Regions from separate parts of the Homo sapiens genome. Here region 1 is linked to region 2. The links are contacts of gene promoters, found by promoter capture Hi-C in human tissues and cell types (Jung and others, 2019). All regions are on one chromosome and are shown on one strand. The core of a region is centred on a gene start or on the middle of the fragment in contact, and the rest is flanking DNA. Distances in the headings are between cores, read along the strand shown. Region 1 overlaps DNAH12 (dynein axonemal heavy chain 12). Region 2 holds the start of DNAH12 (dynein axonemal heavy chain 12).

Evidence for each region. Contacts are between HindIII fragments. The study calls those that stand out against the background at their distance.
Region 1: a fragment that was not itself captured here is called in contact with the fragment with the promoter of DNAH12 in region 2 in 1 of the 25 tissues and cell types used here (mesenchymal stem cells).

What each region holds. Positions count from the first base shown.
Region 1 is chr3:57,504,381-57,510,516 of GRCh38, reverse strand. DNAH12 (dynein axonemal heavy chain 12) reads left to right here. Exons shown (of 74, transcript NM_001366028.2): 6 at 1,305-1,377; 7 at 1,977-2,135; 8 at 2,679-2,874. Among named protein-coding and RNA genes, the nearest start is that of DNAH12, 37 kb to the left of the region's middle. The HindIII fragment of the contact is 5,615 bases long and covers 2,004-6,136 here.
Region 2 is chr3:57,543,076-57,549,527 of GRCh38, reverse strand. DNAH12 (dynein axonemal heavy chain 12) reads left to right here and starts at 5,184. Exons shown (of 74, transcript NM_001366028.2): 1 at 5,184-5,331. It also overlaps the pseudogene RNU6-483P. RefSeq lists an enhancer at 5,046-5,596. The HindIII fragment of the contact is 14,626 bases long and covers 1-6,452 here.

The sequences.
Region 1 (6,136 bases), core at 3,562-6,061, 39 kb after region 2:
AGGCACACACCACTATGCCCAGCTAATTTTTTTATTTTTTGGTAGAGATGTAGTTTCACCATGTTGACCAAGCTGGTCTAAAACTCCTGGGCTCAAGCCATCCACCCACCTCAGCCTCCCAAAGTGCTGGGATTACACGCTGAGCCACTCAGCCCAGCCTTAACTATATGTATTTCTTAGATACGATTTTTATTTAAAGTTTTTATTTTGAGTCTATACTTAAGTCAAAATCCTTACAATTTAAGGGTACTTTTTGTATTTTTTTTATTAGCTAACTTCTCTTTGATTTTTTACTTTGTCTTTATGATTTTAGCTATACTATTTATAGGTTTGCTAGAAAATACTAATATGTTTTGGGAGATTTATTAGGGGTATAATCTTTGCTATTTTTTAGAATAAACTTTTTTCCTTTTTAAAAATTGACAAATAAAAATTGTATATAATTATCATGTACAATACGTTTTGAAATATGTGTGGAATAGCTAAATTGAGCTAATTAACTGATGCATTTTTTTCACATATTTATCATTTTTTGTGTGTGGTGGGAACATAAAATCTACTCTTGACAATTTTCAAGGGTACAATAAATTGTTACTAACTAGTCACTATGTTGTATAATTGCTTTCTTTTTTTTTTTTTTTTTTTTTTTTTTTTTATGATGGAGTCTCACTCTGTCGCCCAGAATAGAGTGCAGTGGTGCAATCTCAGCTCACTGCAACCTCCACCTCCCAGGTTCAAGCGATTCTCTTGCCTCAGCCTCCCAAGTAGCTGGGACTACAGGCGCCTGCCACCATGCCCAGCTAATTTTTGTATTTTTAGTAGAGATGGGGTTTCACCATGTTGGCTAGCCTGGTCTCAAACTCCTGACCTCAGGTGATCTGCCCTCCTTGGCTTCTCAAAGTGCTGGAATTACAGGCATGAGCCACCGCGCTCGGCCTCCATGTCGCGTAATCTCTTGAACTTGTTCCCTCCTATCTAACTGAAATTTTGTAGCCTGTGACCAACATCCTCCCAGCCCCTGGTAGCCACCATGAAATGCATTTTTTTAAGTGGCCATGCTAGTGACTTTTGAGTAGATGGAATGTGAAAAACTGAGATCTTATTAAAGCTTTTCGTTATCTGAACTCTCAAGTAAGGCCAAAATACTACCAAGAACTTGATTTTGTTTCAAATAAAGGAGTTTTTTCTTACATTCCTTTTAATGCACAGTAAACTATACCATCCAAAATCAAAAGTTAGAAACTTTGATATTAATAGATTGTGCAGAGATTTTCAAGAAGCATTAATATATCCATGTATTTTAGTGCAGAGCGTTCTTGTGAAACCACCAGTTAAATCGCTTGAAGATGAAGGAGGTCCTTTACCTGAATCTCCTGTGTGAGTAAATTATTTTAAAAACAGTACTTCATCCAATTTTTGATATAGATAAAAAATAAACTGATCTTACCTTCAAGTATACAATTGTGATGCTCAAAGGTATTTTGAACACATCTAAAAAAAAAGTACTCTTGTTTTTACCTCAGAGGTATTCTCTCTACTATGCTCATTTAGTTCTGCATACATAACTGGGGAGATCTTTATGAATGCATAGCTTAACTTAGCCTTGAGTAAGCTTTGGGGTATGGCAGACAGATTTCTCCAGCGCTTTTCTTTAGTCCTAAAGACTGTGTTCTTTCATTTTTACCAGGATAACTGAGCCAAAGCACAGTGGAAGTTAGCAGAGCTCTCAGATCTGGCCCATCACTCTGCCTTACTCACAAATTATTTCTGTTCTCTCTGAAGATAATGCAGTTTTGAGTTCTTGATGTGTTTTTATTAAATGCATATATCTTAAGGTTCCCATTGCTGACCACAGCTCCCTCTTCTCAAGCCCCAGTTTTCTCACTTCAATACTAATTTCATGTTATAAGCATTATTTCCTAAAGTTTAGGGTGTATTATTTTCATCATGTTTGATATGGTGTTTTGCTTTTCCAGAGGCCTAGATTATTCTAATCCTTGGCATTCTAGCTATGTGCAGGCAAGAAATCAAATATTCTCTAATTTGCACATTATTCATCCAACTATGAAAATGTTACTGGACCTTGGTTATACAACATTTGCTGATACAGTTTTGTTGGACTTCACAGGAATTAGGTAAAATCCCGTTTAATTTAAAATTTGAATGTCTCCTTGCTTGAGTCTATATTTTTGACTGTATAATTTTTAAAATGGAATCCTAAATCTTCAACACTTTTCTCTAGATTTTAGAGTTTAAAAAAATGTATCTTGTTTGTTTCAACAATTGTGTGGGTTTTTTTTGGTTTTTTTTTTTTTTGTTTTTTTTTTCCCGTGATGGAGTCTTGCTCTGTCATCCAGGCTGGAGTGCAATGGTGCGATCTTGGCTCACTGCAAGCTTTGTCTCCCTGGTTCAAGCAATTATCCTGCCTCAGCCTTCCGAGTAGCTGGGATTACAGGCATACACCACCACACCCAGCTAATTTTTGTATTTTTAGTAGAGATGGGGTTTTACCATGTTGGCCAGGTTGGTCTTGAACTCCTGACCTCGTGATCTGCCTGCCTCAGCCTCCCAAAGTGCTGAGATTACAGGTGTGAACCACCGAGCCCGGCCCAACAATTGTGTTTTAAGACCAATATGTATCATTTGCTTCAAATCACATTTCTTTTTCTCATAAATAGAGCTAAAGGTCCAATTGACTGTGAATCACTGAAAACTGATCTATCAATACAAACTAGAAACGCAGAAGAGAAGATAATGAATACATGGTATCCAAAGGTTATAAATCTCTTTACCAAGAAGGAGGCACTAGAAGGTGTTAAACCTGAAAAATTGGATGCATTTTATAGCTGTGTTTCCACACTTATGTCAAATCAGGTACATACACTTTATATATATTAAATGATAATGTTATTAAAATTAGTTCAATATTTTAAATAGAATTCTACGTAAACATAGTGCTAAGTAATTATTTTGAAATAAAATATTTCTACTGTAATTTTATTTTAATAATTTTAGCAGAAAAATATTGTGTTTCTGAAACTATCTAAAATGAAAGGAAATCTAGAAGTATATATTAGTATTATGAGTAATTACTTGGCTCATGCCTAAAGGATATATAAGTTAATTATAGCTTTATTTGGAGTATGTTAACAAAAGAACTATTCTAGTAACATATTTTTGAATTTATTAGATTCCAAGTTGATTGATTCTCATTTTGTTCTCAGTAAAATCTTGGTTTAAAATGTTATTGATCATTGTATAAGAGGTATCTGGTGGAAAAAATTTTTAAAGTTATTGATCATCTTTAAATGACAAATAGGGAATTTTTAATTTTATGAAATTATATTTATGGCCTCCTCAAATTTTTACTGTTGAAGATATACAATTCTAGAAAAATAGTTTTGAAGAAAAACTTTCCCTTTCAGTAAAGACCTCCAACAATTCCATGAATTTTGTCTAGCATATTTAAAAGGATAATATACATATTTAATATCTAGTATGTAATGCTGTAACTAATACACATGGTTTCCTTTCTACCTTTACCCTCTTAAGAGGACTGTGATTATTTAATAAAAGTAAAGAGATGAGGAATGTCTTGAAGATCATTTAGAACCATGTTTGTTTGCTGGGCTAAATTCCCAACAGTTGGTTCTCTATAAGAAACCATTATTCGTACTTTAGAAGCTCCTTGTGCATGTTTCTAAGTTCCAGTGGCTTTACCTTCACCCAGTAGTGTGCTAGAAATATGGCTCTCCAGGAAAGAAAATCACCCTGAGGCTGGGCACGGTGTCTCACACCTCTAATACCAGCACTTTGGGAGGCCCAGGCAGGTGGATCACTTGAGCTCAGGAGTTCAAGACCAGCCTGGCCAACATGGCAAAACCTCCTCTCTACTAAAAATACAAAAATTAGCCAGGTGTGGTGGCATATGCTTGTAATCTCAGCCACTCAGGAGGCTGAGGCACGAGAATAGTTTGAGACCGAGAGGCGGAGGTTGTGGTGAGCCCAGATTGTGCCACTGCATTCCAGCCTGGGCAACAGAGTGAGACTCTGTCTCAAGATAATAAATAAATAAGTAAATAAATAAATAAATGAATAAACAAATAAAAGAAAAAGATAATTACCCTGATTTGTAGTGTTTGTCGACTTCTGTGGTGTAAATATTCCCACAGTGGTAAATTTCGAGCTTCTAAGAGTTTAGCAACTGGCTCACAAAATTCTTGAGTATTTAACAATTGGCTCTTGAGAGAACAGGAGCTAGTTCTAGCATTTCACTGTACCTCACTCCATGTGCATGTCCCCCCATTACACACTTACCTCTGGCTGTCAGACCTCCCCTCCCTTCAGTCTTTACCATGTTGTTTGATCTTCTGGAACATTTTCTGTACCAGGGACAGAATTACTAAAGAATGTGAAAAGTTCTGAGTCACCATTTTAAGATTGTTGATATTCTATTAAAAAATTAAGGTTTGGCTGGGTGTGGTGGCTCACGCCTGTAATCTCAGCACTTTGGGTGGCTGAGGTGGGAGGATCACTTGAGCCCAGGAGTTCAAGACCAGCTTGGGAAACAAAGTGAGACACTGTCTCTAGAAAAAAAATTAAAAATTAGCCAGGAATGGTGGCTCATGCCTATTGTCCCAGCTACTCAGGAGGCTGAGGTGGGAGGATTGCTTGAGCCCAGGATCCCAGGAGCTCGAGCCTGCTGTGAACTATGATTGTGCCACTGCACTCCAGCCTGGGCAACAGAGCAAGACCCAGTCTTAAAAAACAGAAACAGGCTCGGCGCAGTGGCTCACATCTGTAATCCCAGCACTTTGGGAGGCCAAGGTGGGTGGATTACCTGAGGTCAGGAGTTCGAGACCAGCCTGGCCAACATGGTGAAACCCTGTCTCTACTAAAACTACAAAAATTAGGCAGGCGTGGTGGCAGGCACCTGTAATCCCAGCTACTCAGGGGGCTGAGGCAGGAGAATTGCTTGAACCCGGGAGACAGAGGTTGCAGTGAGTCAAGATCGTGCCATTGCACTCCAGCCTGACCGACAGAGTGAGACTCTGTCTCAAAACAAAAACAAAAACCAAAAAACCAAAACCAAAAACAAAATTAGGGTTTGCATATAATGTTCTATTTATTGTTTTAGGTTACCTTTGTTAATGTGTGTTCTCACTTATTTGTGGGAGCTAAAAATTAAAACAGTTGAACTAATGGAGATAAAGAGTAGAAGGATGGTTACCAGAGGCTGGGAAAGGTAGTGGGAGAAGTGGGCGGGGGGTGGGGGGTGTGGTAAGTGGAGATGTTTAATGGGTACAAAAAAGTTGGAAAGAATGGATAAGCTGAGTGTGGTGGCTCACGCCTGTAATCCCAGCACTGTGAGAGGCCAAAGCAGGCGGGTCACTTGAGCTCAGGAGTTTGAGACCAGCCATGAGCAACGTGACAAAACCCTGTCTCTACAAAAAATACAAAAATTAGCCAGGCGTGGTAGCTTGTGAATGTAGTTCCAGCTACTCAGGAGGCTGAGGTGGGAGGATGGCCTGAGCCCAGCAGGCAGAGGTTGCAGTGAATCGAGGTCTTGCCACTGCACTCCAACCTGGGCAATGCTGTCTCAAAAACAAAAAGCAAACAAAACAAACAAAAAGAAAAAAGAAAAAAAAAGAGAGAAAAAAAGAAAAGAAAAAAGAATGAATGAATAAGACCTAGTATTTGCTAGCACAACTGGGTAACTACAGCAAAACATAATTTAATCATCCCTTTAAAAATAACTAAAAGAGTATAATTAGATTGTTTGTAACACAAAGGATAAATACTTGAAGTGATGGAAATCCCATTTACCCTGATGTGACTATTGCACATTACATTCCTGTATCAGAATATCTCATGTAACCCTTATATACACCTATTATGTACCCACAAATATTAAAAATTAATAAGAACATATCATGCTGATTAGCTGGGTGTGGTGGCACGCGCCGTAGTCCCAGCTACTCAGGAGGCTGAAACAGGAGGATTGCCTGAGCCCAGGAGTTCAAGGTTACAGTGAGCTATGATGGCACCACTGCACTGCAGTCTGGGCAACAGAGTGAGACACTGTCTTAAAAAAAAATATGTATATATATATGTGTGTGTGTGTGTGTGCATGTAT
Region 2 (6,452 bases), core at 3,935-6,434:
TTTTAAAAAAATTTTTTGGGTCTTACTCTGTTGCCCAGGCTGGAGTGCAGTGGCATGATCTTGGCTCACTGCAACCTCCATCTCCTGGGTTCAAGCGATTCTCCCACGTCAGCCTCCCAAGTAGCTGGGACTACAGGCGCGCACCACCATGCCTGGCTAATTTTCGTATTTTTTGGTAGAGACGGGGTTTCACCATGTTGGCCAGGCTGGTCTCGAACTCCTGACCTCAAGTGATTTGCCTGCCTCAATCTCCTAAAGTGCTGGGATTACAGCTGTGGCCCACTGCACCTGGCCTGATTAAATTTTTTAATTAAAAATATTTTTTATAAACATAGTCTCACTCTGTTGCCCAGGCTGGAGTGCATTGGCTATTCACAAGTGCAGCCATAATAGCTCACTGCAGCCTTGAACTCCTGAGCTCAAGTGATCCTCCCACCTTGGCCTCCTGAGTACCTGGAATTATGGGCACAGGCCACTGCATCCGGCCCTGCTCTCTTTGTTAGATCTTTTCATTATTTGGAAAACTGAGTCTTCTCTCTATGAAAAAGTGAAGGATTTTGCTTTATAAAATCTTTTTTTAAAAAAACTATGGAATGCTTCACAAATTTGTGTGTCATCCTTATGCAGGCACCATGGTAATCTTTTCTGTATCATTTCAGTTTTAATATTATGTGCTGCCGAAATGAGCACTGCTTTGTAAAATCTTTTAAATTTTCACTTTGGCTAAATGAATAACTGTTATTTTACAGTGACCTATGATCTTCTTTTGATCAAATGTCTTAAAACTTTCCTCGTTTGTTTTCATTTAAAAACAATTTTTTTGAGACCGTGTCTCACTCTGTCACCCAGGCTGGAGTGCAGTGGTGCAGTAATGGCTTACTGCAGCCTCGACCTCCTAGGCTCAAGTGATCCTCCCCCCTCAGTCTGCCAAGTAGCTGGGCCCACAAGTGCACACCACCAACGCCTGGCTAAGAAATATTCTGTAGAGACAGAGTCCCCTGATGTTGCCCAGTCTGATCTCAAACTCCAGGGCTCAAGTGATCTTTCCACCTCAGCCTTCCAAAGTGCTGGGATTACAAGTTTGAGCCACTGAGCCTGGCCTTTTCTATTTTAATTGAGTGTTTTTATCCTTTGACATACTTGACAGGCTTCCCAAAGTCAAATTTCAAATTCTAAATTAAGTCTTTTCGGCCTCAAACTAACCTTAGGTTATCCCAGAATGGCCCCTGGAAGCCTAAGAGAGACGTATTAGGCTTATTTGATATGTAAATTATACAGGAAACCTTTGCATTACATTTATATGAACATGTTATTAATATGTGTTTTAAAAGTATATGAGATTCCTAAAAGTCTGATGTGTCTTTTTGTATGTTATCAGTCATAATTATGGCTACTATGTAAACTTGTTATAGACTACAGAAAAAAACAAATTTCCTTGTCAATCGCATCATTGTTGTAAACTCTTACCAGGTCTTTCACCATAGCCATTCTAAATCTTGTTGTTCGTAGTAAATTGCTTTATTCTAATGTTTTTTCTAAATGATCTTTGCAAGCAAATATAATCCTAAAGCATTGTGTCTTCAAAGAGGTTTATGAGAAGGATAAAAAGTCTGATACATACTCTGGAATACAGGCCTCTGTTGATTATTAAGTTGGACTGAATAAGAACTTGAGAAACTCCAATGGTAAAAACTGGACTTAAAATTGCTAATTTATCAAGTAGAACAAAAATTAATTACATGGGACGGAACTGATGAGGACTGAAATGATTTTAATGACTTTTTTGCTTGAAACGTTGCTTTTTATTATTATTTTCTTTCAGAGTTAAGAAAACTTTTTTTCTCTGCATTATCTGTAGTTTTATAGCAATTTGGTAACTTTTTGGTATATTTTGTGAGTAAAATTGAAATATTTATCTTTCTCTCTACCTGATATCTCCAGAATTAGGAAACTATTCATGAGTATTCTTGTTTTATGGCAATATTATTTATTTGTATAAGCTCAAGAGGAATCTGTTCTTGTAAAAGAACACACTTTTGGAAACATTGGCTATTAAAAAGGATGTACATCGGCCAGGCGTGGTGGCTCACACCTGTAATCCTAGCACATCTAGAGGCCAAGGCAGGAGGATTGCTTGAGGCCAGGAGTTCAAGACCATCCTGGCCAACATTGTGAGACTTTGTCTCTATAATAAAATTTTTTTTTAAAGTAAAAAAAAAAAGGACGTACATTGTATCAGTCAGGGTTCAAAGTGGGAAGCAGAACCACTAAGATATAATACATATCATCTATATCTATATCTATATCTATATCTATATATGTGTGTGTGTATGTCTATACATATATATATATTTTTTTAAACAAAGAATTGGCTTATGCAATGGAGGGGGCTGGTTAACCAAGTCCATGGTCTGTAGGGCAGACTATCTGTCAGGAAGGGAAGAACCAGAAAATGGAGAGCAGTTATAGACCCAGCTGCTGTTTGGAGTTTGACTCAGGGCATGCCCATCTCTTTATTATTATTTTTTTAATTTTTAATTTTTTAAAATAGAGACAGAGTTACACCATGTTGCCCAGGCTGGTCTCAAACTCCCTCAAGAAGTCTGTCTGGCTCGGCCTCCTAAGGTGCTGGGATTACAGGGTTGATCCACTTTGCCAGGCCTAAATCTTTTTAAAAGGATTTCTACTGATTGAGTCAGGCTCACCCAGGATAATCTTCTTAGATCAATGTCAATTGACCAGGGACTTGAATTGAGCTGTAATCTCCTCACAGCAGCCCTAGATTAGTGTTTGATTAATGACTGGGAGAAGGTGGGTATATCATACACAAGATTGCTGCCTTCTCTTTAGTTCTTCTAATTTAGCCTAACCAAATTGACATTCAGGCTAGATATGGTGGCTCATGCCTATAATCCCAACACTTTTAGGAAGCTGAAGCAGGAGGATTGCTTGAGTCCACTAGTTTGAGGCAAGCCTGTGCAACATAGTAAGACACTGTCCCAACAAAATATTTTTAAAAATTAGCCGATGTCGTGGTGTGTGCCTGTAGTCCCAGCTACTCAGGAGGCTAAGGTGGGAGGATCCCTTGAGCCCAGGAGTTTGAGGATGCAGTGAGCTATTGCTGTAGTCTCAGCAATGCACCAAGATGTAACAGTTTCTCATTGTCTGAGATAACACCTGGAGTTATTTGTCCCACCTCCAAGATGATTAAGGAGCGCAGACCCAAAGGTTAGTTTAGAACGAACGTTTAATAAGAGAAAGAAGAAAGCTCTCTGCCAGCAGAGAGGGGGACCTGAATGGGGTGCCCCCTATGAGGCTGGGGTCCAGGGTTTTTATGGACTGGGAAGGGGAAGGAATGTGCTTCGTCCCCCGACCCCGCTACCCTGGGGCTTGGCCTGGTACTAATCAGGAGCTGAAATGATGATTCATAGATGCTGCTTAGCTTGGCTCGGGACCTATCAGGAACTGAAGAGAAAGTTTGGCCCTGGACCTTGGCCCAGGACAAATCAGGAGCTGAAGTGATGATTCCTAGAAGCCGGACTTACAATCCAAATAAAGGAAAGTAGAGTGCCCACTGGAACCTACTGGAGCCCACTGTGCCCATACCCACAAAAGGAAAATAAACTTTTTTTTCCCTGGGAGCCCATTGACTATACAAAGGACAAAGGCATTTCTTTGTTCCTTTATGTGAGTGAGGAGGAGGTCTGTGCAAGTTTTTGTCCAAATGGGCTGGAGATTTTTCTATCTGTGGAGCCGTGGGCATGTCTCCAGGCACAACACCCTGTGCTAGTTCCCTTATTGGTGCCTGCCGCTTGAATTTTTTCCCAGGCTGCTTTTTATGTTATGTGGGGATGAGGCACTGACCCATGGGCTGGGGGTTCTCTGGGGACCCTTCCCTTGCTATCTACCTAATGCAAAATCTAGCTGACTCCTTTCACTATGATGGTGCCGCTGCACTCCAGCCTGGGTGACAGAGCGAGAGCCCTGTCTCTAAAAAATAAACCCTAACAAATTGACATTAAAAAAACTGTCTAATCTGTCATAGGACTGAGTTTAAAAGAGAAAAGGTGGCATGGTGCAGTGGTTCACGCCTGTAATCCCAGCATTTTGGGAGGCCGAGGTGGGCGGATGACCTGAGGTCAGGAGTTCAAGACCAGCCTGACCAACATGGAGAAACCCCGTCTCTACTAAAAAAAAAAAAAAGAAAAGAAAAAAAATTAGTCGGGTTTGGTGATGCATGCCTGTAATCCCAACTACTTGGAAGGCTGAGGCAAGACAATCACTTGAACCTGGGAGGTGGAGGTTGTGGTGAGCACTCCAGCCTGGGCAACAAGATCAAAACTCTGTCTCAAAAAAAAAAAAAAAAGTCACATTATTTATACAAGTATTTTATTTTCTACAGAAAGATAATTTGCTTTTACAAACTACCAGGAAGTTTTACTTGTTCATTCACTCGCTTAAATGACATTTTAGAGCACCTACTCTGTGCCAGACACAATAGTGTAGGCTGTACTCTCATTAAAAAAAAAAAAAAAAATTACGTAGCAACTGGCACATAGAAGGTGCTCAAATATTTGTTGAATGAATATGCTGTTAACACACCGGCAGTATTCACTTCCCTAATTTAATTTTGGCACATAGTATTCTCGTAGGCTATTATCATTTAGATGTAGTATGCATTGTGCAGCTTCAAACAGCAAAATTTCACATCTTTCTCCCAGCATACCACTAAATTCACACACCTTAACCTGTTTGATTTTGCCAAAGAATTCCTGGAAGTGCTGTGTCAACAAATAGCAAATCTAGAAGCAAGATAAATTATATTGCTGATTAGTTACAATATTTACAGGGTGTCACTAGGGGACATTTGAAGACTTGATTCTCTTGCTGAGAGTGTTTCCATAAATCTGTTTTCCAACAGATCTAAATTTCCAGTCTTGCAGTTTTCCACAGTTTGAAGATTCTAATTTCCTGGTCCCCTTCCCAGGAAAGGCAGTTAGGTTAAAACAAACAAACAAAACCTCACACCCCATTTACTTGAGTAACGAATTATTGTTGTGACAGGTAATCCTAACCCCTTGCAGCTTGGCAACTGCCTCTCCAGGCAACCTTCACCCAGCCCCTCCAGCTGGGGCCGCCACAGTTTCCATGGCGACGACGTTGTTTCCAACCGGTCAGCGACCGCCCTTCTCCAGCTACTCGTTTGAGAGCCGGTGGCGTTCCGGAGGTTTCTCCCTCGTTATCCCCCTGCCTTTCACCTGAGGAGAGGCTCTGACTGTCTCTCTCTCTCTCTGGCGTCTGCGCAGCGGGGAAGTAGTGAGAAACAATCAGGTACTTGTTCTCTGCTGTTCTCTTCCTTTCTCTCCCAGGGCAGGTATCGCGATTTGGGTGCCAACTTAAACACTCTTTCAAGGCAGGAATCTCCAAATCCTGTAGGCATTCATGGCAAATATAGTTGTTATCACAGTACAATTTTTTTTTGAGACGGAGTCTCGCTTTATCGCCCAGGCTGAAGTGCGGTAGCGGGATCTCAGCTCACTGCAACCTCTGCCTCCCAGGTTCAAGCGATTCTTGTGCCTCAGCCTCCTGAGTAGCTGGGATTACAGGCGCCTGCCACCACGCCCGGCTAATTTTTGTATTTTTAGTAGAGATGGGGTTTCACCATGTTGGCCAGGCTGGGCTCGAACTCCCGACCTGAGGTGATCCGCCCACCTCGGCCTCCCAAAGTGCTGGGATTACAGGCGTGAGCCACCGCGCCTGGCCCACAGTAAAATTTTTGAGCATTTACATGACATTTTATATTTGCCATGCATCAAGTATGCCTATTTTTTGCTTGATCATAGCATCACTTTCTTGGAAGGCAGCAAGACTAAGATATCATACTGATGTTTAAAAATATTAATGATTGGCTGGGGGCGGTGGCTCACGCCTGTAATCTCAGGACTTTGGGGGACCGAGGCGGGAAATCATCTGAGGTCAGGAGTTCGAGACCAGCCTGGCCAACATGGTGAAACCCTGTCTCTACTAAAAACACAAAAAAGTAGCTGGGCGTGGTTGCGCACCTGTAGTCCTAGCTACTCGGGAGGCTGAAGCAGGAGAACCACTTGAACCTGGGAGGCGGAGGTTGCAGTGAGCCAAGATCGCGCCATTGCACTCCAGCCTGGGCGACAGAGCAAGAATCTGTCTCAAAAAAAAAAAAAAAAAAAAAAAAACCATTAATGATGTTAAATATCAGCTTTTACTGGGAAGGGGATCATCCCTCAACAACTGGATTTGTTGTGGTGGTGGTGGTAGTGGTTTGCATCTCGGGAAAATTTTGCACCCAGAATGCTACAGCTGTAGGGATATTTACAGAGCATCTAATTCAATTCCTTAGTTTCATCCATTAGGAAACAAGCCCTGAAGGGGAACTGACTGGCTCATTGCTTCATAAGTGAGTTTTAGAGTTCTAA